2 separate regions of the Homo sapiens genome follow, and region 1 is linked to region 2. Evidence: promoter capture Hi-C in 16 types of primary human blood cells and fetal thymus (Javierre and others, 2016). All regions are on one chromosome and are shown on one strand. Each heading gives the region's core, a stretch centred on a gene start or on the middle of the fragment in contact. The rest is flanking DNA. Distances are from core to core; before and after follow the strand shown.

Region 1 (6,215 bases), core at 1,243-3,742, 260 kb after region 2:
ATTTGGAACTCACGGATATGGAAGGCTGACTGTTTATACAAAAGCACTTTGGGAGAAAGAAAAGAATATTAGGAACTGCAGAAGGATGGCAGGAAAGGTAACAAGGAACTCAATCTTAAAAGCTGAGCTGGATTTCAAAAGGCAAAGAAAGAACCTAAAGAAATCTTAGGTCTGAGCAAGAGAAAGCTGGACAGGGGGCAACTAAAGTCTGGCTGGCAGACATTTAATAAGAATGGACCTGGAGAATGAAAGTCACAAATTAAAAGGACTAAGGACCTGAAGGGAACGAAGAGATAAGAATGGGCAGGAATTTGAGTGTATTTGACATAAAGAAGGCTGATGAAATCACCAAGATAGAACTATTCCAAGTGAAAAGTTTCCAAGTGTGGCCTTGCCTGCGAGTTGCTAAAGTGGAATAAAGCTGACAGTCACTCGGATTAAGCAGGCTAAACTCAAGATGACCCCAGCTTTGAGGTAAAGCAGAAAATGGTGTTAGGAAGGCAGTGAGGTAGGACCAAAGGACATCAAAGATGAGAAGAAACTGGAGCATTATTATTTTTTAAATAATTTCATGACAATAGTTTTCTTCCTATCTGCTAGTTAGTTAACAGATGAACTCAACTAATTCTATGCAAATTACTTAAGACCACTTAGTGCTTCCAAGGCCTAGGAACTAGAAAGAAAAGGAATCAGATAAAAAGGAATGATCTGTAGCCTCATTCGCTCATAGGCTAATCACCTCTAGTCCATCTGCTGCCTAGACAAATTTCTCCTTGGAGGTAGCACCCCTGTGCAATAAGGCCTAGGGTAGTAACGTGTTTAGTTTTCACTGATGTATAATGTGGGTGTTATTACAATTTCTTTTTTTTTGAGATGGAGTCTCACTCTGTCCCCCAAGCTGGAGTGCGGTGGTGCAATCTCCGCTCACTGCAAGCTCTGCCTCCCGGGTTCACGCCATTCTCCTGCCTCAGCCTCCCAAGTAGGTGGGACTACCGGTGCCCGCCACCACGCCAGGCTAATTTTTTGTATTTTTAGTAGAGACAGGGTTTCACCGTGTTAGCCAGGATGGTCTCAATCTCCTGACCTTGTGATCCACCCGCCTCAGCCTCCCAAAGTGCTGGGATTACAGGTGTGAGCCACTGCGCCTGGCTTACAATTTATTTTTTAAGATACATATTTTATGTCTTGATGAAGACATTAGTTAGCATTTTATGTTTTAGTACTAGAACTGTCCTTGTCTAATATTCTGGAAGACTTTCCATGCTGTTTCTACCATTAATAACATACCTAATAAAGTATATCATGAAAATCTACAGCATCCAGGTAGTTCTTTGAAAGTGTAAGACTAAATAGGTAGACCTGTGAAAGAATATTAAAATTTAAAGTACCAATTAAAAGGATGTTTTACACAAAACAAACTCCCACCATCATAGCATTTATAACATATTAAAATCACATTTTCATGTATTTCACTCTATTCCCACTGTAAGTGCTTCAACAGCAAGAACCACTTTTACTCATTTGTAAAATCCCAGAGCCTGTGTGTGCCTGATAATTGTACAGTAGTCCCCACTTATCTCCCAAGACCGCCCCCCGCCAACCCCACAGCGGATGCCTAAAGCTGCAGATAGTACTAAACTCTAAATATACCATGTTTTTTCCTATACGTACATACCCATGAAGTTTAATTTATAAATAAGGCACAGTAAGAGACTGACAGCAATAACTAATGGTAAAATGAACAATTATAACAATATATTGTTACAAAAGTTACGTAGCTAGAGTCTTCTCTCTCTCAAAATATCGTAACATTTTCAGACTGCAGTTTGAATGAGTAACTAAAACCTTAGAAGGTGAAATTGTAGATTGGGGGTGGGGCGGCTATAGACTTAAAAACAAGCAAACAAACAGGTCTATTAACCCACATGAATAACGAGTAGCTTGTATCTTATCAGCATATCATTTGTAAAGCTTAGCTATAGGTATGAAAAGGAAGGGTGGCCTATCCATGCTTGAGCCAAAAAATGAGGTAAAGTGCACCCTATTATCAAGAAACCCCCCGCAAAAGGAGATAAATCGCAGGGTCAGTTAGGACCCTGTGGTTCAGTTGTCCCTACTACCAGTTAGAGATCTTCAGCCTAAAACTCAGTTTCCGGAATTTCTTTTTTAAAAGGAAGCTGATATTGCCTTAAAGACCTTATCCATAAAACCTACCTCAAAGTCTGGCAACAAAAACGAAATATACATGCAAACACACTTGGTTCTGTGCCTGGCATATAGTGAGCCTTTAGATGTTAGCTCCCCTGACCTCCTTCCCCCACAACAAACGACTGGCTCAAATCAGGCCTCTGACTCCATTTTCAGTGATCTTTTCACAACACCACAGCCAAGTAAGCATAGTATTAAAACACAGATTCAAGGCCACGTACAGTGGTTCAAGCCTGTAAACCCAGCATTTTGGGAGGCCAAGGTTGGAGGATTGAGCCCAGGAGTTCAAGACCAGCCTAGGCAATATAGTGAGACTCCCATCTCAAATCAATAAATAAGCAAGCAAGCAAGCCAGGTGTAGTGGCGCACACCTGTGGTCCCAACTACTCAGGAAGCTGAGGTGGGAGGATCTCTTGAGCCTGTGAGGTGGAGACTGCAGTGAACTGTCTTCACACCACTGCACTCCAGCCTAGGTGACAGAGCGAGACCCTGTCTCAAAAAAAGTAAAATAATAAAATACAGCTCTAAATATTCATATATTGGCAGAAGCCTTTATTTAAACGACTTCTACTGAATGGACACTGTGTAAATACATATGGTTTTTAAATTTTTCAAAGATTTGTTTAGTTTCATAGGTGAAATCCCACTAGTATGAACTTTATCCAGAATACAAAAGCAGCTTTTCCTGTTCAAAACAGATTATACCTCTATTCATTAAAACAAAAGTCTACCTGTATACAGTGAAACCAAAACAACAATGGCTCTTTAATACAAAAGCCAAACCAGAATATGGCAGGAGCCCATCAAAGCTTTAGCAGAATGTAGTGACACCTCACAGATTTACATTTACATAGGTTAACTAAAATTAAGGGCAATTACAGTGTTCACAATCTATTTTGTGAATCAAACCAAACTCAGAAATACCCTGAACACCATGCCTTACCATCTTACTTTATCCCACTAGAGTAGATGCTATGTTGTTTTTGCCACCCAGGGTCAATTCACCCTTCTCTTGGGAACTTCACACCAACTCTTCTCTGAGAACTACCAAGTACACTGGAGGAAGCTGACTCAAGCTGCTTGTGACCCTGGCCTGACCAAGGTACATCTCCCTAGACATAGTGACCAGTACAGGGTTAGATACACGGCCACAATCAGTGCAGTCACAGTGAAAATCTCAGGTTTCCTGCAATGCTAGGACAAGAATGCTCACTCTTCTCCCCTTAGGTCTAAACCTGGAAAAATGTTTGCCCAAGGACTTGTTGGAAGCCATCTTGGAGAAGAGCCTCAAAGAACAGAGTCAACAACTACAAAAAACAAAAGTCAAAGCCAAGAAAGAACTGTAGTCTCATGACCTAAGCCCTAAGTCAGGCAGACCTTCCCAAATTTCGGAACTATTCAGTTATATGAGCCAAGAAATTCCCATCTTTTTTTTCTTAATACAGAGGGTATCTCAGATACGTATTTATTACTGAGACCATATATACAGTTGTTCCTCCATATCCACGGAGGATTAGTTCCAGGACCCCCAACAGATACCAAAATCCACGAAGACTCAAGTCCCTGATATAAAATGGTACACTATTACATAACGTATACACATTCTCCCATATACTTTAAACCAGCAGTCTCCAACTTTTTTGCACCAGGGACTGGTTTTGTGGAAGACAGTTTTTCCACAAAGAGGGGAGAGGGTACATGGTTTCAGGATGAAACTGTTCCACCTCAGATCATCAGGCATTAGTTAGATTCTCATAAGGATGGCCAGGCATGGTGGCTCATATCCCAGCACTTTGGGAGGCCAAGGCAGGCAGATCACTTGAGGTCAGGAATTCGAGACCAGTCTGGCCAACATGGTAAAACCCTGTTTCTACTAAAAATACAAAAATTAGCTGGGTGTGGAGGCAGGTGCCTGTAATCCCAGCTACTCAGGAAGCTGAGGCAGGAGAATCACTTGAACCTGGGAGGCAGAGGTTGAGGTGAGCCAGGATCATGCCACTGCACTCCAGCCTAGGCAACACAGTGAGACGAGACTCCGTCTCCAAAAAAAAAAGATTCTTTTAAGGAGTGTGCAACCTAGATCCCTCACGTGTGCAGCTTACAATAGGGTTCACGCTTCCGTGAGAATCTAATGCTGCTGCCAATCTGACAGGAGGCGGAGCTCACCTCCTGCTGTACAGCCCAGTTCCTAACGGGCCACAGACGGGTACCAGTCCACGGCCTGGGGACTAGGGACCCCTGCTTTAAAACCATCTCTAGATTACTAAATACCTAATACAATGTAAATATTACATAAATAGTTGTTAAACTATTATGTTTAGGGAATAATGGCAAGAAAAAAGTATGTACATGTTCAGTACACACACTTTTGTTTCTTTTCAAGTATTTTTACCCACAGTTGGCTGAATCTACAAATGTAGAATCCCATTTACAGAGGGCCAACTGTATAGGAACATCTGAATTAATGGAAGATGGGCTCTCATAGCCTACTTCATTATCACCAACAGCATCGTCAGAAAAAGTAGAGCTTCCTCCATCCTCTCAGGTTTACAGAGGCCCCAGGACATGGCCAAGACACACCTTCCTACCTACCTCTCAGGTGGCCAGGCCACACAAGTCCAAGGAATCAGCACTGTTCTCTACCAGATACGCCCCTACTCCACTTGTGAGAGGTATTTACCTAAATCAGACATTCCTGTCCCTCTTTACCCAGCTGCCAATAACTGAATAATTTGAAAAAAGTCCCATAGGTATTGTCAGAGCCCTTATTGCTTCTTTAAAAATTCTACCGGGAGGCGCGGTGGCTCACGCCAATAATCCCAGCACTTTGGGAGGCCAAGATGGGCAGATCATGAGGTCAGGAGATCGAGACTAACACAGTGAAACCCCGTCTCTACTAAAAATACAAAAAATTAGCCAGGCGTGGTGGCGGGCACCTGTAGTCCCAGCTACTCGGGATGCTGAGGCAGGAGAATGGCGTGAACCCGGGAGGCAGAGCTTGCAGTGAGCCGAGATCGTGCCACTGCATTCCAGCCTGGGCGACACAGTGAGACTCCGTCTCAAAAAAAAAAAAAAAAAATTCTACCTCAAGGATTTGCTAAATCAAGGGAATGACCACCTATTTGGTCTGGCCAAATAAATGTTTCTGTTTCTATTTCTCTAAAGAAAACAATAAACTACATGTACTATTTATCCTTCTCAACTAAATTAATAGCAGCAACTTTGACTCTTAACTGAATACCAGGCTATGTAAGGTCAAATCCAAACCCAACAAGATGTAAGTAATATGATTACAATATTCTCAATGTCCTTCCTTTTAAAAATGTTTACTTCACAGCAAGACTGCCAAAAAATTGCCAATTTTGATAACTCTCCAGTCTTCAATAGTGCCTGTTTGTATGTTTAAATGCTTTGAAGGCAGCTGTTAGTATCATTTGGCAATTTCATTTATTTTTAATGTTACAATCCATTGTTTCAATATACTGAAATTTAAATCAATGGTAAATGAGATTTTGTAGGTAAGGATAAGAAAAACAATATAAAGAGAACTTAGACATATAGATGTTAAATTATTGGTAAGTGATAAAAATTAATTACTTAAGAGAAACAGATCCTATGCCTGAGGGGGAATATAGAAAACCTGTCCCTGTAAAAAGGAAGACCATGAGAGAGGAATCCAGGAGAAGCAGGCACGCAGTGCCATGCACTGGGCACTAGAATCAGGATTCAAAACAGACAAGATCAGAGATGGCAAGGAGAGTTCATCTCATACAACCACTTTGAGGGTTGTGTCCATAAGGATTATTGGCCTTAGGCCAGGCCATGTTCTAGCTCAGCAGAGAGAGTGCTGTCATGATTAATAATGCCTGTTACACACATGGGGCAAAGAATTGGGGTAGCAGCACTCTCTATTTCACACCAAATTCCAAGTAATAAACTAAACTAATAAGAGAAGAGTTAGTTGTATTAATTCTAAGTCCTATACACAGCATTAAACAAAAAGCAAG
Region 2 (6,149 bases), core at 2,211-4,710:
GCCCAGAATAGACACCAGGCTGCTTGGGGCAGTCTAATCCCATGGAGGGTTTTAACACTAATGCTGCAGAGCCCATGTGTCTTTCCACCATGCCACTGCCATCCATGCAACAATCAACACAGAAGGAAAGGGTCAAAAGTTGCTTTTGGAGCTTTGCATTTGCACATGGGTGTTTCTAAGACAGATGCTAATTAATGCTTGGGGGGGCTGCCAAAACCTTGTTTCTGAAATATTTTCTAGACCCTTTAAATTCATCAGTATAGACACAATGACGATAAACATTTTTATAGTAGACTTTCACACAAGACAAAGATCAAAGGCATGTGTAATCGATGATAAAAGGAAGTGTTTCGAGTGATAAAAAAGTCATTCTCAAGTATATCTTGGTGTTGATTTTATTTTTAATAGCTCAGCTATGAGACTGTGACTTTGTGCATATACTTAAAACAGAGCTAACATTGGAAGCCTCTAACTTCACAGTTAGAGGGTCTTCATGCCCAAAGCACCTCCAACCATCCAAGCCATGATGGCACTCATTCTGCTGTTCCATCCCTTTTCGGAAGATGTGCAGAAGTCATCCTCAGAGTCCTCGGCACTATGCTTATAATTTGGACTTTGAACACCACGTGATCTCTGGCACCTGGTTATGGGGGTCCAGTATCCACAGCCCCCACTGGGAATTATGGCATTTCTCTTTTGTAGCATACAATACCAAATAATTAGGCTTTTTCTGTGAAAATAAACTGCTTTTAATACATGTATTATTAAACCAATAAAGCATTAATATTTACTAATTACTAATTTAAGCAAAGTAAAACCTATTTCAGAGTAAGGGAAAAGCATGCAGAAACACACATTGTTATGAGCTGTTGATAAACAAGGCTTAATATAATCCTGGTTTTCCTCATTCTATCTTAAAGGGACATTTCAAACTCTTGCTTTCATAAACAAAACTTTGTAATTTGAAAGAGTCCAGGTTTTTATAATGATCACGTTCCTTAAAATTAAACGACAGTTTTCACTTTTCTTAAAGGGAAAAGTGTTCAAAACTTTCTCACAGAGAAAGCATTGATTTTCCTCTGAGTTCCTCCCATGAACTGTCTTGATCGCTGCCAACTCAGTTCCTTCTGTATTCTGTGCATGTGGAATACACTGTTTTCTGCTTAACGAGTTATTTCCAACCCCATCCCCAGCCACACCTCAGTTCCACGAGTGTTCGTGGCTCAATGACCTAGGGACCCCAAGCATTCACCATAAATAAGGCTGTTTACTGACCTATTTTTACTAGGACTACTGAGATATGCTGAACCCTGGCGGGGGTGGGAGTCGGGGGGATTGAAGGTACACTTCTCCCTAGCACCATCAGTCATTGTTCAGATATTTAAATTTCACAAACAGAATCAATGGCCTGCTGGGGGCATTGTCACTTACACCGAGCAGGGCCATCTGTCGCAGCACTGGCATTTTCAGGCATTTTAGATGACAGCATTGCGGGATCTCGTTCTTTGTTCGTGGATTTCAGGATGAAGTCCTTCAATGGGGCTTCATGACTGACCAAGGTTTGAAATTGATAATGTCCCCAGATGGGGACTTGCTGATGCGGCTGCATTCACAGCAATTAGAAGATAATCTGGTGTAAAAACTGTCCGGAGAGCGAGGGGCACAGAATCCCTGAGCTCAGGTTGAGCAGGGGAAGAGAAAGCCAGATCTCCATTCTGGAGGCAGAGTTTTCCACTTTTCCCTAAGGGGTCGTCTCAGCAGCCGGCCTCTCAGCTACAACGTGCGGAAATCTCACTGCCCGATGTGCTAATCACAGAATTGCACAGGTACTCCCTGAATCCAACTTGGGTTATTAAAACAACAATGAGGCTTAGGCATTTGGCTCAGTCCACCCCCAGGGTGACCAGCTGGTCACCTCACTCCGCAACCCAAATCCAGGGGATTCATTCGTTGTCTAGGAATAACTTCTTCCACCTTGGGAATTCTCTGATTTACTCTTACCTAGGTCCACTGGTCTTGACCAAAATGTGAGGTGTCCTTAACTTAAGGTTTTGACTTTTAAGAGGCAGTCGAGGAAATAATATTATGAGGTCTGTCTATTTCTTTAGTGGTCAAAGACAGATAAGTAAAAAGGCAAAGCTAGAGTCCGAATGTATGGCTGCAGGTTCAAGATTCCAGGCCAAGTTCTTGGAACTCCAGCACCTCTAGACTCACCAGCCCCACCAGCCCCTCTGGCCCCTCCAGCCCCACCAGCCCCACCAGCCCCACCAGCCCCTCCAGCCCCTCCAGCTCTGCTGCAGGAAATCCTGCCTCAGGGAATCATGATGCACCACCCAAGGAAGTATTTGCAGAAAAAAGAGATTCCATTATTGCCTTCCCTCAAGGGTGGTGTTGAGCCCATTAAGCTTTTCCCCAGCAGTACACAGAGTAATCTTAGGGATTCTGGTGGGAAAAATATCCCAAATTCTGCTTCCTTATGCTTCACCACATGACCCTAGGGCACACGCACTAATCAAGAACAGCCCAGGGCATCCTGTCACCCCCCACGGTGCACCTGCAAACTGGCTTTTACAGCAACCTTGTCTTCCAAATGGGTCCGTATCTTTCTAGGCATCTTTTGTAATGCTAACCTGTTTGGCATTACCCAGAAATGCTAACATTTCTACCACTTTAACTAATCTTAAGAGATTAAATCACACTCCATGATACTCCTGACAACAAATAGCATTTTAACCAGTAATTTACGATAAGAAGATTTTCAATCAGTGGGCTAAGCCCTTCCCTGGTGATTTAAGAAACTGCCAGCCTCGATGGAGATTCTTCCATCAATTCCTCATCATTATAAAAGAAACAATGGAGGAAAAACTCATCCAATTAAGTGACAATTCCAATGTGTAAATCTTGTAATATTTTTTGCATTTGTGATATGGGTTCTACACTAAAAATGCAACTTGTCTAATCTGAATGAGATGAAAAATCCTGAAAAAGGATGTTATCCTCAATATTTTGTTTGTGCCTCTTGATTTAGTAAACTCCCAACCACTTTTTCATCCTTCCCTGCCAAACCCCGCTACAAAATGTTTCTCATTATGACCTGAGACATTAATTCTGATTGTAGAGGTTTTAGATCATTTCTTCTAGGTGTTAATCAGTTCTGGCCATATGGTGAGGGTGAGGTAATCATTATTACTTTACAATGAATGCCCTTAATTACTTTTTCAGTAGTAATATTAGTCCTTCTGTTTATTTGAGTACCTAAGAGCTGCAGGCAACGTGATCTGAATTACATGGAGGACAAGCTCCAGCTGACTTTCCGTAAACTCGCATTAGGATTCTAATAGGAGACGACAGGAGCAGGTGGGGATAATGAGCTGGCGGAAGGGGCTGCCTATCACACTGCTCGGTGGCCCCTCTTTCACCCCCACTTTGCCTCAGGCATTTTCTACTCAGCTGTGACCTTACTTATGGTGATGCCAATCCAGTGGTCAGGAGCGAGGCGCCCAGCCTGTGTCTGAATCCTCCTACTGACCCTGGGGATCCGTGCGACTTGATCTTAGATATTGGTGGTGAAGCGCCGCTCTCCTTGACAGCATCCAGGAAAGGTAATTACCTTTGCCAAAATGCAAGTGGAAGTTCAAAGCCTCAGCCTTGAAGAGTGTCCCTGGAGACTTCCAGGCCCCCAATGTGAATGTGAAGCCCTCCTGCCCAGTGGGGCAAGGCGCCGGATTGACCTTCGCCTGAGTGGGAGGGCAGTCGCTGTTTGGGTCCACGTTAGGGGCGGTCCAGGTCAATTTAACTTGTCATATGCCACGGGAAGACATAAGGTAAGTTAATGATTCTAAGATGAATCAACTGCTCTTTGAGTCAGTCAGTATCTCTTGAGAATTCATTCACTCAATCCATGAATGTTTTTGACTCTCTACTATGTGTTATGGAACTGGGCTTAACGACATTGAAGTAAAGAGAGAGACAGAGATTAATTCACTGCCCCAAAGAAGGCCTGGAATCTTCTTAGGGAAAAGAATCCTCACAAAACACTCCACTGAGTATTCTTGTGTTTAGCCTGAGTCATGTTGATTTGAAAAATTCCAGCGTAAAAATTGTATATTTTCACACAGTGTGGTAGAAGGAATGCGCTTGTTCTCAGACTATGTTTTGCCCTGGAGATGGGTCCACAGGAAGCCTCTATCTTGGTCACCCTTTGGCACAAGCTTTGCACCTGTTCCCTTCTCCTTGCCTAGATTCTTGTCTCTTCTCTCGCTTTAAAGACCAGGAGTTGTTGTTGTTGTTTTAGAGATAGTATCTTGCTCTGTCACCCAGGCTGGAGTGCAGTGTCACAATCATAGCTCACTGCAGCATCAACCTCCTGGCTTCAAGTGATCCTCCCAGAGGAGCCTCCCGGGTGGCTAGGACTACAGCCATGTGCCATCAGGCTTAGCTAATTTTTTTATTTTTTGTAGAAATGGGGTCTTGCCATGTTGCCCAGGCTGGTCTTGAACTCCTGTCCTCAAACGATCCTCCCACTTCAACATCCCGAAGTGCCACCCATGCCCAGCAAGACCTGGATCCTTAACTCTTTGCCTGTCTTTGATCTTTGACACCTCCTGATCCCCAAGCCCCTGCCTCCCACTAGGCAGGCATTTTTGGTTAAAGTATGAGCTCCCACTTTGTATTTATCTCCAGCTTTGGGTGTTCAGTTTGATGGGAACCACAGGTGTCCCCACCTAGTTCTCCAGCCCTAATTTGTTTTCTCCCATGTTGCAGTTCCTGGCTTCTTCCCATTTGCCCACACCCTCATTGTGGCACAGTGCCCCAAACTGACACATGCCACAGGCTCAGAGTATCTTCTGATATGAAGAATGACTCTGGTCATTCGAGGGCAGAGAGGATTTCATGACCTTTCCCTGAGAACAGCAGCATGAACTGCAGGGTCAGCAAGGGGGTTGTGTCTGCCTGCTGCTAAGGTCAGATGCAGACAGCCCATGTCAGGGAAAGCCCATTTAGCATAAGAAGAGTAAAAAGAAGAAAATACCTCCTCAGCCAGGGGTACTTTGATGTGAACCAATACAATTAGTCTCTGAATGATGAATATAAATGATAATCAATGACGTATATGTGCTTAAAAGAAGGTGAGAAAAGATTATCACTGCCTAAACCTTCCTTTTAAAGGATGCCACAAGTGCATGGGTGGAGCATATAGGGTAGATAGGATTTTTTTTTTTTTTTTGAGATGGAGTCTAGCTCTGTCGCCCAGGCTGGAGTACAGTGGCGTGATCTTGGCTCACTACAACCTCTGCCTCCTGGGTTCAAGCGATTCTCCTGTCTCAGCCTCCCAAGTAGCTGGGATTACAGGTGCACGCCACCATGCCCAGCTAATTTTTGTATTTTTAGTAGAGACAGGGTTTCACCATGTTGGCCAGGCTGGTCTCAAACTCCTGATCTCAGGTGACCTGCCTGCCTCAACCTCCCAAAGTGCTGGGATTTCACGTGGAAGCCACTGTGCCCCAGCAGGGTAGATATGATTTAAATCTTTTTTTTATTATTGTTTTTTTGAGATGGAGTTTCACTCTTGTCACCCAGGCTGAAGTGCAATGGCACGATCTCAGCTCACTACAACGTCCACCTCCTGAGTTCTAATGATTCTCCTGCCTCACCCTCCCCAGTAGCTGGGATTACAGGCACCCACCACCACATCCTACTAATTTTTGTATTTTTAGTAGATACAGGGTTTCATCATGTTCACCAGGCTGGTCTTAAACTGCTGACCTCAAGTGATCCACCCACCTCACCTCCCAAAGTCCTGGGATTACAGGCATGAGCCAACATGCCTGGCCGACACGATTTAAATCTAATTAGATCACTGGAAGATACAGCAAAGTCTCAAAGTGGTTGTCTATGGATGGCACTATGAGTTACGTATTATTTTTCCAAAGCTCAGAATGTTCTGAATTTCTTTATTTTTGTTATTCATTTTGAGATGGAGTCTTGCTCTTGTTACCCAGGCTGGAGTGCAATGGCTCAATCTTGGCTCACTGCAACATCCGCCTCCTGGATTCAAGTAATTCTCCTGCCTTAGCCTCCCAAGTAGCGGGAATTACAGGCACCTGCCACCACTCCCAGCTAATTTTTTTGTATTTTTAGTAGAGTCG

Evidence for each region. Contacts are between HindIII fragments. The CHiCAGO score rates a contact against its expected background, and 5 or more counts as called.
Region 1: a contact is called between a fragment that was not itself captured here and the fragment with the promoter of C7orf33 in region 2, in 10 of 17 cell types (activated CD4 T cells, naive CD4 T cells, non-activated CD4 T cells and 7 more). The highest score is 13.1, in activated CD4 T cells.

What each region holds. Positions count from the first base shown.
Region 1 is chr7:148,849,167-148,855,381 of GRCh38, forward strand. All of the region lies in intron 1 of EZH2 (enhancer of zeste 2 polycomb repressive complex 2 subunit), which reads right to left. Among named protein-coding and RNA genes, the nearest start is that of EZH2, 32 kb to the right of the region's middle. The HindIII fragment of the contact is 1,046 bases long and covers 1,970-3,015 here.
Region 2 is chr7:148,587,306-148,593,454 of GRCh38, forward strand. It overlaps C7orf33 (chromosome 7 open reading frame 33), which reads left to right and starts at 3,461. Exons shown (of 3, transcript NM_145304.4): 1 at 3,461-3,824. The coding sequence starts at 3,621. The HindIII fragment of the contact is 1,806 bases long and covers 2,404-4,209 here.